Regions from separate parts of the Homo sapiens genome. Here all the other regions are linked to region 1. The links are contacts of gene promoters, found by promoter capture Hi-C in blood cells and fetal thymus (Javierre and others, 2016). All regions are on one chromosome and are shown on one strand. The core of a region is centred on a gene start or on the middle of the fragment in contact, and the rest is flanking DNA. Distances in the headings are between cores, read along the strand shown.

Region 1 (2,515 bases), core at 12-2,511:
TGCCACAGTATCTTATCAGTTAATTGCATTCTTGGATGTGCTGGGAGTCAGCTTGCACAAATTAAGTCCTTGAGGAAGCGGGGTGGGTAAGGGGCTGCAAATGAAAGAGCCAAGATGGAGTCTGTCTGGCTCTCTTAGCTAAGGGAGAGTCAATTCAGGTTAAAACAAGGTAGGGTATCACAAGCCCACTTAACAAGGGCAGCAGGACCCCAAGAAGAAAAGCTTTAGGAGTCTCCACAGTGGGCCCAGGGCAGTTCCACACAGGTCTCTGAGGCCCCACAGACAGGAGAGCTGTGACGACTCCCTTAGTGCCCAAGAAAGCAAGGAGGTGGTGGGCAAGGGGCTCCCAGAGGCCTTGGGGCACTAGAGGGGAGATGGAGCCGAGGGAGTGGCTCTGCAGGCCCCTCTCTGAGAGAGTGCATGAGGTGTGGCCCCAGGCCCAAGGGTAGGGGGTGCACAGGGTGAGGGAAGGGAGGAGAGGAAGAGGAGGAGGAGGTGGTGGCCACAGCGGGATGGCACTCAGCCAGGTTCAGCTTCGTGGGAAAGGTCCCAGGTGGGCCGGGCTAGCACTGGGGATGCCCTGGCTCTGTGTCTCGGTTGGGTGGCTGACTCCTCCTGGAACGCATCCCTGACATCCTCCAGGCTGGCTTGGGGATACTCTGGGGACACACAGTGCCCAGGCTTCCGGCCTCCCAGCCCTGGCTCCCTGTGGACTCAGCTGCCCCCAACAAGCCTGCGAGCCACTGGAGAGCAAGGGCAGGCTGTCCTTGCCATCCAGATGCCTGGCACAGAAGGGGTTCTCACCTTCGGGGTATGGGCTGACTCAGTGGGTTTCTCCTCCCTCCAGCTCTAACCTGCCTGTGGAATAAACAAATCACTCCTCTGGGTTGTCTAGCTGGTGCAGGCCCCAGGGCGACGCCCCTTTGAGGGGAAAATGGGGGCATTCCAGTTTCCATGAGCCCTGGGACTCCCCTCCTTCCCACCACTGCTGCCTACCCTCCGGTTCCAGGTATGCAGGCTTCCTCCCTTCTGACGGTTCCTGCTGCTGGAGTCGTCCTTCCTGAAACCCTGCCTTTGCTTAGCCTCATTCCCATCTCTCAGTCCCATCCTGCAGCTGGGCAGGCAGTGCTGGGCCCCGGAAATGCCCTCTGCCTCCCTGGAGCACGTGGCCTGTGATTTTCCTTGAGCACAGCACTTTGTGACTTTGATGTAAACATCAAACACAGCCCCCTTTCCTGTCTTCGCATCCAGGAAATAGGTTAGTTTCAGACAAGCCTGCTTGCCGGAGCTCAGCAGACACCAGGCCTTCCGGGCAGGCCTGGCCCACCGTGGGCCTCAGAGCTGCTGCTGGGGCATTCAGGTAAGCGGCTGTCCTCGGGCCTTCTGCCTGTGTCCTGCCACCAGGGCCACCCCAGGGGGCTCTGGGAGACCTGGCAGAGGATGAACCCCCCCCATCCATGAGTGAGAAACCCTGGCGGGGTGTGACATCCTCCCCCGGGGTGTGTGCGGAGAGTGTGAGCGGCAGGGCCTCCCTCTCAGGCTGGGGGCTTGGGCTGCAGGGAAATCCAAACCGGCTTTGTAAGCCCCGATTCCTCACCCAGAACCGGCTCTCCATTGGCATTGGGACCAGAGACCCCGCAAGTGGCCTGTTTGCCTGGACATCCACCTGTACGTCCCCAGGTAAGTGGTGCCTGGGTGGAGTGGCACCTGGCCACCGTCTCCATGGTGGGCTGTGTCTGGAGGAGGAAGACAGAATATTAACTGGGAGTCAGGAGGTTGCTGGGAGGACCAGGAGAGCTGGAGGACTGGGCTGGGTGGTGACTGGCTGGAGATGGAGGCAGACGGGGCTTGTGGCCACGCTGAGGGAAGCAGCTCCCCCTCCAGAGGCTTGGCCGAGCGGGGCTGTTCAGGGGACACGGTGAGGCCTGCTCAGTCCCTGGGCTCCTGCTGGGCCCTGTTTGGCTGCATCCTTGGCTCTCGGAGGCAGAGAAACCTCCAGAGAAAGCGCATGTGCACTCTGTGAAGATGAGGGGGCTGCTCACCAGGGCCGTGAGCTCCATCAGCAGAATGCTGTGATTCCTGTGAGGAGTCCAGGGCAGGCTTGAGCCACTTGTAGGCGAGCTCAGGTTAGAGGAAGACCTGGAGAGAGAAAGAGCAAAACACCGAGTTCTCCTCAACTGCTGTGTGTTCTCGGCAAGTTGCTTGGCCTCTCTGACCTCAGTTTGTGCATCTGTTAAATGCACATGCAGATATGGGCACCTGGCAGGCGCCTGGTTCCTGACTGTTGGCGAGAGGCTGGGAAATGTGTCCCAGGTAGGAAGCATCCCCGACAGGAAGGAACAGGAGTTCATGAGGTGAGCAGCTCGAGATGATTCATTACTCTCGTCTTGGTTGGAACAGTAGGCAGACAGGAGGTGTTTAATAATGCCTTGCTGAGAGATCAGGGTCAGGGACTCCTAAGGTGCCACCTGTGAAGCTGCCTCCTGCTGAATCCAGAGCTTCCTTTTCCTCTTCA
Region 2 (2,515 bases), core at 11-2,510, 650 kb after region 1:
GGTCTGGGTTTAGCCTAAAGAGGCAGTCTGGCCACGATCTGCCACAGCCGCTATGGTGCACTGTGGGGAATTCCTCCTGGGCCCAAACTGCCCAGTCTCCACGACTCCAGCAGGGGAAAATGGCAGACTGGAACTCCAGTGATGGCGGCCACCCCTTTCCCCAGGAGCTCGGTAGTCTTAGGCAGTCTCCAGTGTAGAGGCCGCCAAGAATCTGCACAGCTCTGTGCTTGAGACCCAAGGCCCTGGTGGTGTGGGCTCACGAGGGAATCGCCTGATCTGTGGATAGCACAGATCCATGGAAAAAGCGTGGTTTCCTGGGTAGGGTAGCACAATCACTCACCGCCTCTTTTGGCTGAGAATGAGAGGTCCCCTTGCCCTGTGCCGCTCCCAGGTGGGCAGGCGCTCCACCCTGCTTGTCCTCACTCTCCTTGGGACTGCCTAGTCAGTCCCACTGAGAGAACCTGGACACCTCAGTTGCTGGTGCAGGATTCACTCACCATTTTCATTCTCCTTGGTGAGAACCTCTGACATCAGCTGTTTTTTTTCTTTTTTTTCTTTTTTTTTTTTTTTTATTGAGACAGAGTCTCACTGTGTCCCCCAGGCTGGAGGGCAGGAGTGCAGTGGCGCGATCTCGGCTCACCGCAAGCTCCGCCTCCCGGGTTCACACCATTCTCCTGCCTCAGCCTCCCGAGTAGCTGGGACTACAGGCACCCACCACCACGCCCGGCTAATTTTTTGTGTTTTTAGTAGAGACAGAGTTTCACCATGTTAGCCAGGATGGTCTCAATCTCCTAACCTTGTGATCCAGCCGCTTCGGCCTCCCAAAGTGCGGGGATTACGGGCGTGAGCTACCCCGCCCGGCTGACCTCAGCTGTTTCTAGTCAGCCATCTTGGTCCCTCCCCGGATTTATTACTTTTAATGAGTACAATTTCTTATGTTGGTCCTAAAGTTTTGCAGGCATCTCAAACTGGAATCATTCTCTTTCTCTAACGTGCTTCCCCCCTAGTTCCCTGTCTCAATGGGCAGGCAACACCCCCCATCACCCCAGCTGTTGGGGCACTGTGTTCAGCACCTCTTCCTCCCCACCCCTTATACCTAAATTGCCATGTCCTGGCAACTCTACCCACTTGCTATCACTACCACAAAGCTAGTTCAGGCAGTTGTTCTCTCTCCCCTAAGAAACTGTGGCAATTTTTTAGCTGCTCACCTCACAGGGAACTCATGTTCCCTGAATACATCCTCCCTGGTCTAGCCAGAGTGGCCTGTACACACCTGACCACATTCCTACTGGGCTTTAGGGTAAGGCCCAAGCTCCTGGGCACAACCTGCAAAGCCTGTTGTAGCACCTGCCCCACTGCACTGTCAGATCCTTGAGAACAGGCTTCGTTTTATTTCTCTTTATAGCTCCTATGATCAGCCAGAAACTCACTCATTGTTACATAAGTGAATAAAGTGTTTAAAAATCAAAACAATGTTTGATCTATTGAGAAAACCAGAATATTTAAACTCATAGACTTAAACTATCAAACATCAGAGACAAGTCAGGACCCTGCTGAGCCGATGGCTGCCCTTTTGTAACTGGCAGAGGGTTGGCCAAATGTGCATGGCCACACCAATGGCTCCTGTCTCTGACCTTCCTTTGGATTTGGAATTAACTGAGTCCTGGAGTGAGTCCCTGGGCTATTTCTAGAAATTGCCATCTTTCTCCGGAGTGGTCTCCACTGACATCTGACACACTTAAACGATGTGGCTGCTCAAGAGAGCCTGTGCTAATCTATTTTAGAGAAACCATCCTCAGAAATGCATCTTCCAGTGAAAGACTTATCCAAAAATCATGGAACTGGCCAATCACACCAGCCCTGCTCTCACATAGGCTTTCTTTTCAATCACAGGGGCACCTTCCAATGTTTGCCAAAGAGAAAATGTTCATGACCTGATTTCTGGCACAAGTGTAACTGCCCAAGGGGTTCACCTTCCCCACTGCCTAGACAGAGCCAACTTATCAAGACAGGGGAATTGCAACAGAGAAAAAGTAATTCACACAGAGCTGGCTGTGCAGGAGACCAGAGTTTTATTATTACTCAAATCACTCTTCCCAAAACTCAGGGATCAGGGTTTTTAAGGATAATTTGTTGGGTAGGGGGCCAGTGAATCGGAAGTGCTGATTGGCTGGCTTAGGGATGAAATCACAGGGAGTTGACTCTGTTCTCTTATGCTGAGTCAGTTACTGGGTGGAGGCCACAGAACTGGTTGGTAGGTCAAGGTGTGGCCATCCGGTTGTTAGAAATGTGAAAACCTGAAAAGACATCTCAAAAGGCCGATCTTAGGCTCACAATAGTGACGTTGCCTTTAACAGTAACTGGGGAAGTTGCGAATCTTACGACCTCTGGAATAATGGCTGATAATATTTAGAATTCCAGCCCCTCTCATTCTAACTTGGTGGCTGTTGGGCTTTTAGTTGTTTTACAAAAACAGTTTAGCTTTGGGAAAGGGCTTTAATTTAAATTATAAATT
Region 3 (2,515 bases), core at 12-2,511, 630 kb after region 1:
ATTGAAGGCTCTCAAGATTTTTTTGGATTTTGATTTATACTCCTTAGTCACCATATATTCTGAGTGCATGTTAGCTATACATTCTATAACTCCGTATCCATATTAAAATATGCAGGAAACTCCATATGTTCACCCAAGGCCGTGATAATGATGTCAAACTGAGCAGTACTGAGTCCCAGAGCATATCACACCTATTAGCGAGCACTTTGATGCCGTTCACATCACAATCCACAAAAACAGCCTTGCATCCAGCACACTGATTGCCAGCTTAGCAATTAGAAAAGGTGATTGTCCTTCTTTTGTGGGTGGAAAATGAAGGCTTTAGGCTTAGAGAAAAGCTCAAGTGATTTCGCTGGGCCAGGACTAGGCTCAGTTGTAACCGGGGCCAAGCTTGCCCTCAGTATTTAAAGTCTCACCTGTGCCCTTTCCCCCTGATCTTACCCACCTCCTGCTATGGCGCCCATCCCATGCCACGCTCACTGGCCTGCAGGATCCTCAAATGTGCTCCTCAATTTTTCCTACCAAAACTTTGTATTTGATTCTTTATCCACACTCTATCTCATGGAGTTATTGGCATTTTAAAAGGGATCCAAGTTTGAAAATAGAGAGATGACGTTCCAATGGTAGGACTTCAGGCATTGATGGTCAGACAGTAGAAATTTGGAGAGTGGAAAGCTGGCACTGGGGTCTTAAGGGCAGCCCCTATAGCGACTGTTTGCAAAGCTGACCTGAAAGAGACAGGGAGTCCCCAGGGGACAAGATAGATTAGATCCTATGGTCCCACAGTCCTCCTCAAGCTCTTAATGGTATTTGGTTAGAATTTCTAACTCTTCAAATCTTGTTCATTCATTTAATTTAACTTTCCTTCTATTCTTCCAACTGCCAGGTAGGTGAGAGAAATAGATGCCATCATCTTGATTGCCTGAGAAGGAAACAGGCAAAGTGGGCTTTAAAGACAGAAAATAACTGCTTTTCCCCAACTTGGGGCCTCCCCATCCTGCAATTTTGCACTGACTGACAGAATTCCTGCGGGGAAAACTGAGGCATCTTGCTTCTCATGTAAACCTTGCCTGTCTCCTCATAAATATTTTATTTCCCAAAAGCCATTCCTACAAATTGCCTTATCATTTGCCAAGGATCTAGACCATCTGCCAAAGCAAGTTCACACATCCCTCCTTGCTGATAACTGGGTTTATCTGTTTGCATTTCTGTGTATCGTCGGTTAGTCTGGCTTATCTACTTATGAGATTGTGTGTTCTTTAACACACTGGACACCATATGGCCCCCAGCAGAGACAGCAGTCCTGTTGCCTACCTATGGGCACTATTTGTGTGCCTTTCAACCCTGACTATAAAATATCAGGTCCCTAGTACATCTAAAATTTGTTTGGACTGGGAAGATTTTACAAAATTAGAATCAAAAATTTAGTTCTTCCCGCCCCTATTTTTAAAGCAATGTGTACAATATGCATACAGAATAAATAAATAACAAATTATTTACACAGTGAAACTAAATGAACTATAGCTACAAGCAACATCACCAAATCTTACTAACCTAATATTCATTGACAAAAGCAAATCCCAGGAGACTACATAGACTATCACATTGTTTCTAAATTTCAAAAACACAACTAAACATCATTGAGGAGTCCCCCGAGCCACACATGTACACACTTACGCTCAGACTCAATACATCTGGGCTTGGCTGGTATTTTCCTTTCATTTCCTGGCACCGAATTCACAGGTGGATAGAACTGGTCTCATCAGGCTCCCTGGCTCCAGACTTCCTCAGCTCCTGGGTGCTACTCTTTTCCCCACAGACCCCTCCCCACTTCCTTAGTGTCCTGGCTGAGGCTGAAGCAACTTAGCATTCACCTGGCCCCCACCCCCTTCCTCCCACTCTCACCTGCTCTGTCAGAAAGAGGAGATGGTGCTTTCTCCATAGCTCTCTTCTTCCTGTGGTCTCCCTATTCTAACAAACACCAAAAGACTTTGGGTTTCTGAGAATCGCGCTCCTTGGTCTCTTAGTGCCATGGGCCTGTTAGAGCATCCCACTAATTTATTCAGAGGTTGCTGTATCCTGCATCTTCACAAAATCTTGCTGTCCCTTCCACACTCGACCATGCCTCAGTTGAAGCTTGAGCAATAATTGGAAAGGTCCCCAGAGGCCACTCCATTGAGTGAGCATTGGGCCAAATCTGGACCCTCCATCATGGCAGCCTAGGATCTTGCAGCTCGATGACTTTTGCAGGCAAATTCACAGATACATCCCCTTCAGTCTCTTTCCATTCATTTCCAGTCTCTTCATCTGTTTCCACTTTTCAGACACCCAAAGTTCTTCAATGATAACTATTGCCACATACATCATTCCCTAGGGGCCAACTATGTGCCCATTTCTGTGCTAAACACTCTATCTCATTTCATCAGACTCAGGACACTTCTCCATTTCTTGATTAATTCTGTGAGGTCTTGTTTTCCCCTTCAAATCTTAGGAATGATGTGCATTTCAGAAACAA
Region 4 (2,515 bases), core at 8-2,507, 600 kb after region 1:
TGTATAGTTTCCTGACATTTTCATTTAGCCTTTCCTAATTATTTTTGTCTATAGTCTGTTGTAGGTAACTCTAATTGAGCCCGAAACCAGAATAAAAACTCTTACATTGGAAACATTTCAAAACCATTGGATTGTTGGATTATTTGTTACCATTTTTCTCTGAACACATTTTAGCAATGACATATGAAAGTATTCAGTTGTGTTTACTAACTTCAAAAATGAAATCGCTCCATCAAATTTCGTTTTTCTAGTCGGTAAGATCCCTGAGGCTAGATGAAAATAGAGCACAGGTCATCACTAGGGAAAATATTGGATGCTTTTTGCAAACAGAACAGATAGGGCTGAGTTCTGATACTCTAAAAATTTACAATCTAATTAAAAGTGGCATTCACATTCCTGAAAGCTAGGAGTAGCCAGGGTTATGGTGAAGAAATTAAAGAACTAATCCACTTCTAAAAATATGAAAAAAAAAAAATAAGGGACATGCGCTCAGCATCAGGCTAAAAACAATAATGCAGTGAGGAAGGAACTGAAGAGTGAGGGAATTGTTTGAAACAAGGCAAGGAACAGTGCTTGTGGGAGGCAGAGTACCTCCCAGAACTCAGACGTTTCCTCCCAGCAGGAAGGCTCTGGAGCAGTCTCCGCTAATGAGAGTTGTGTCCTGGAAGGAAGGAAGGGTATGAGGGTCTGAAGGAAGCAAGGTGTCTGGTCTGGAGAACTAGTGGAGCAGTTTAGAAACCACCCAGTCATAGGCATTGGTTCATTTATTCATACGTGCATGCATGTGAGCCTGCGTACATTCATTCAATTATTCAACAAGCAATTTGAGTGCTGACAGCCTGCCAGGCTCCAGAGAGATGCCAGCAGACTTGGAAGGTGGTTATCTTCCCTCTGTACCCATCTCGCTCTCTTCGTCTCCACTTTCTCATTGGAACAATCACTGGTGTCTGGTGGTGGGGTATGAGCAGAGACAAATGACTACAGGGCAAATATATACAATGCTAGTTGCATTGGTGTTACATTGCAGTGCACAAGGCCATCATTTGATGTGTTCAATGATAGTGCCTACTTCAGTGTAATGGAGGAAGTTGCAATTACAACGGTGAACTTCCACCTCCAACCAATACAGAATGGCAGCAACTAGAATTACACTCCCACCAAAACAACTAACACACCTGCTAAAATATATGTAACAACAGTTTCCAAAACACTGGGCGTCAGGTGATAAGGACAGTGCTCTTTGAGAGATAAATGTGATGAGCCCTGTGCATTTCCCAGTCGCTTCCTGGAGATATTTCCAGGCTGCAGCATAGGGAGGGGGAACCCAAACACAGCCCGGCAGCCTCTGTGAGCTGAGGAGATGGAAATGGAATTCTGAGGACACCAAGGTAGCTGGAGTTTACCAGGGTCAGGGCTGGTGAGCAGAGAGCTACAGAGAGAAAGCTCGCTGGAGACCTGCGGAGTGGCCCTCTTCAGTCTTCAGCTAATAAGTGCATGGCTGTGAGGAAATTACTGAAGACCAGAGAAAGGACCACTCAAAGTGATTACAAGGAACAATTCCTATGGTTTACACAGGGCTGGGAATATTTCCTGTTTCCTTCAACCAAAGTGGAAAATATTATTCATGGGGCATCGGATAAAGTATTCAGGAGTTTGTCTCAATAGTGGAGCAAAACTGGCATTTGACTAAATGTTTCCGTGGTCCCAGCCTAACAAAGCTGAAAAGCAAGCCTGGGAAGGATCAAACCTGTTTCCAAATACCTGTGTCCCAGAACAAAGATCAAGGATATTTATAGGGATACAAAAATATCCATCATCCAACAAGGTACAATTTACAATGTCTGACATCCAATCAAAGACTGGCCTAAAGACAGGCATGAAAAACAGCAAGAAAATAACCCATAATAAAGAGAAAAGCTGGCCGGACTTGGTGGCTCACGCCTGTTATCCCAGCACTTTGGGAGGCCGAGGTGGGTGGATCACCTGAGCTCAGGAGTTCAAGACCAGCCTGGCCAACATGGTGAAACCCTGTCTCTACTAAAAATACAAAAATTAGCTGGGTGTGGTGGCTTGCACCTGTAATCCCAGTTACTTGGGAGGAGAGGCTGAGGCAAAAGAATCGCTTGAACCCAGGAGGTTACTCCGGAGCAAGAGTCCATCTCAAAAAAAAAAAAAGAAAAAAAAGAGAAGCCAATTGGAATCAGCTCCGGAATGACACAGACAATGAAAAGTACCAGAAATGGCAACTGATGGTATATATATGAAAGACTTTCTTTTCTTACCATTTAAATCTCCTTTAAAGATAATTGGCTTTATAGAGTAATGTCGATAGTACATTAATGCATTTTCATAAATCCTTGAACATGCACCTGGATGCATTCATTGCCTCAGATGATTTGCACATTTGATTTTTTTGCTGAATAAATCTGTACTTTTAGCATATACCAGAAGTAATAAAAGGGGTTCAATCTGTTAAACACACTCACAGACACACACAATAATAATAGTGATGATA
Region 5 (2,515 bases), core at 6-2,505, 550 kb after region 1:
CATAGAATTGTACATCACTTTAGGTAGTATGGACATTTTAACAATTAAGTCTTTCAATCCATGAACACAAAATGTCTTTTTTATTTATTTGTGTCTTCTTTAATTTCTTTCAGCAATGTTTTGTAGTTTTCAGTGTACAAGTCTCTCACTTCCTTAAAATTATTCCTAATTTGTTCTTTTTGGTGCTATTGTAGATGGGATTATTCTCTTAATTCCTTACCTGATTGTTCATTGTTAGTGTATAGAAATGCAACTTATTTTGTGTATTGATTTTATATCCTTTAAGTTTGCTGAATTTATTAGTTCTAACAGTATTTGTGGAATCTTTAGGGTTTTCTACATGGAAAATCATGTCCTCTACAAACAGATAATTTTACTTCTTTTCTAATTTGGATATTGCTCCTTTCTTTTTCTTGCCTAATTTCTCTAAGACTTCCAGTACTATGTTGAATAAAGGGAGAAGAGTGGACATTGTTGCCTTATTCCTAATCTTAGAGGGAAAGCTTCCAATCTTTCATTATTAAGTACAATAGTAGCTGTAGGCTTCCTTATGTTGATATAGTTTCTTAGTATTCCTAGTTTGCTGAGTGTTTTTATCATGAAAGGATGTTGACTTTTGTCAAATGATTTTTCTGCATCACTTGAGATAATCATGTGGGTTTTGTCCTTCATTTTGTTAATGTGGTATATTACATTAATTTTCATATGTTGAACCATCCTTGCATTCCAGGAATGAAGCCCATTTTTTTCATGGTGATTATCTTTTTAACATGCTGTTTAATTCAGTTTGCTACTGTTTTGTTGAGGATTTTTGCATCACTGTTCACCAGGGACATTGGTCTGTAGTTTCTTTTTCCTTGTAGTATCTCTGTCTGGTTATGATATCAGCGTAATTTCTGTCTCATAAAATGAGTTAGGAGCATTTCTCCCTTTTCAATCTTTTGAAAGAGGTTTGAAGAGAATTGTTATTAATTATTTCATTGTTTGGCAGAATTCTCCAGTTAAGCCATGTGGTACTGGGCTTTTATTTGTTAGGAGGTTTTTGATTATTGATTTGATCTCCTTACTAGTTATAGATCTATTCAGTTTTTTAATTTATTCATGATTCAGTCTTAGTAGGCGGTATGTTTCTAGGAATTTATCCATTTCTTCTTGGTTATGCAATTTGTCGGTGTAATATTGCTCTTAGTAGTCTCATAATCCTTTTAATTTCTGTGTCATCAGTTGTAATGTTTCCCCTTTTGTTTCTGATTTTAGTTATTTGAGTCTTCTCTCTTTTTTCTTGGCTAGTCTAGCTAAGAATTTGTCAATTTTGTAGGTCTTTTCAAAAAAAAACAAATCTTGCTTTCATTGATTTTTTTTCTATTGTTTTTCTATACTCTATTTCTAATCTTTATTATTTTCTTCCCTCTGCTAACTTGGGCTTTCATTTGTTCTTTTCCTAGTTCCTTGAAAAGTAAAGTTAAATTGTTAATTTGGGACCTTCCTCCTTTTAAAATGTGTTTACCACTATAAACTTCCTTCTCAGTACTGCTTTCACTGCATCTCATACATTTCGATATGTTGTATTTTTCCTTCATTTATCTCAAGATATCTTCTAATTTCCCTTGTGATTTATTCTTTGACACATTGGTTGTTTAAGAATATGTGACTTAATTTTTATATTTTTGTGGATTTTCCAGTTTTCCTTTTGTTATTATTTCTAGGTTCATTTCATTTTGTTCAGAAAAAATACTTTGCTTTCAACTTTCTTTTTTTAAATATTTGTTTTGTGGCCTAACATTCAGTCTATTCTGGAGAATATTCCATGTGTACTTGAGAAGAATGTGTATTCTGCTGTTGTTTGGTGGAGGGTTCTCCACATGTTGGTTAGGCCCAGTTGATTGGTGGTGTTCAAGTCCTTTGTTTCATTATTGATATTCTGTGTAGTTGTTCTGTCCATTATTGAAAGCAGAGCATGAAGTCTCCTGCTAATACTGGGTTGCTGTCTATTTCTTCAGTTCTGTCAAAGCTTGTTTTATGTATCTGAGAGCTCTGATGCTAGGTGCACATATAATTGTTATATCCTCTTAGTGGATTTGGGTAGTATGGACATTTTAACAATTAAGTCTTTCAATCCATGAACACAAAATGTCTTTTTTATTAAGTCATAAGTTGATATAACAACTTATGACTTAAAATCTATTTTTTTATTTTTTATTTTTATTATTATACTTTAAGTTTTAGGGTACACGTGCACATTGTACAGGTTAGTTACATATGTATACATGTGCCATGCTGGTGCGCTGCACCCACTAACTCATCATCTAGCATTAGGTGTATCTCCCAATGCTATCCCTCCCGCCTCCCCCCACCCCACAACAGTCCCCAGAGTGCGATGTTCCCCTTCCTGTGTCCATGTGTTCTCATTGTTCAATTCCCACCTGTGAGTGAGAATATGCGGTGTTTGGTTTTTTGTTCTTGCGATAGTTTACTGAGAATGATGATTTCCAATTTCATCCATGTCCCTACAAAG

What was found. Contacts are between HindIII fragments. The CHiCAGO score rates a contact against its expected background, and 5 or more counts as called.
Region 2: a fragment that was not itself captured here is called in contact with the fragment with the promoter of ZAP70 in region 1 in 2 of 17 cell types (M1 macrophages and M0 macrophages); the score reaches 7.0 in M1 macrophages.
Region 3: a fragment that was not itself captured here is called in contact with the fragment with the promoter of ZAP70 in region 1 in 5 of 17 cell types (M0 macrophages, M1 macrophages, erythroblasts and 2 more); the score reaches 7.6 in M0 macrophages.
Region 4: a fragment that was not itself captured here is called in contact with the fragment with the promoter of ZAP70 in region 1 in 2 of 17 cell types (M1 macrophages and M2 macrophages); the score reaches 6.5 in M1 macrophages.
Region 5: a fragment that was not itself captured here is called in contact with the fragment with the promoter of ZAP70 in region 1 in 2 of 17 cell types (endothelial precursors and megakaryocytes); the score reaches 7.7 in endothelial precursors.

Annotation. Positions count from the first base shown.
Region 1 is chr2:97,712,315-97,714,829 of GRCh38, forward strand. ZAP70 (zeta chain of T cell receptor associated protein kinase 70) reads left to right here and starts at 1,262. Exons shown (of 14, transcript NM_001079.4): 1 at 1,262-1,360; 2 at 1,602-1,680. RefSeq lists an enhancer at 1,070-2,043. The HindIII fragment of the contact is 8,251 bases long and covers 221-2,515 here.
Region 2 is chr2:98,366,631-98,369,145 of GRCh38, forward strand. The region is part of intron 1 of CNGA3 (cyclic nucleotide gated channel subunit alpha 3); the gene reads left to right. Among named protein-coding and RNA genes, the nearest start is that of CNGA3, 21 kb to the left of the region's middle. The HindIII fragment of the contact is 8,735 bases long and covers 1-2,515 here.
Region 3 is chr2:98,342,339-98,344,853 of GRCh38, forward strand. No RefSeq gene overlaps it. Among named protein-coding and RNA genes, the nearest start is that of CNGA3, 2.9 kb to the right of the region's middle. The HindIII fragment of the contact is 1,746 bases long and covers 389-2,134 here.
Region 4 is chr2:98,312,822-98,315,336 of GRCh38, forward strand. VWA3B (von Willebrand factor A domain containing 3B) reads left to right here. Exons shown (of 28, transcript NM_144992.5): 28 at 1-478. Among named protein-coding and RNA genes, the nearest start is that of CNGA3, 32 kb to the right of the region's middle. The HindIII fragment of the contact is 5,618 bases long and covers 1-2,515 here.
Region 5 is chr2:98,262,849-98,265,363 of GRCh38, forward strand. All of the region lies in intron 21 of VWA3B (von Willebrand factor A domain containing 3B), which reads left to right. Among named protein-coding and RNA genes, the nearest start is that of CNGA3, 82 kb to the right of the region's middle. The HindIII fragment of the contact is 1,508 bases long and covers 502-2,009 here.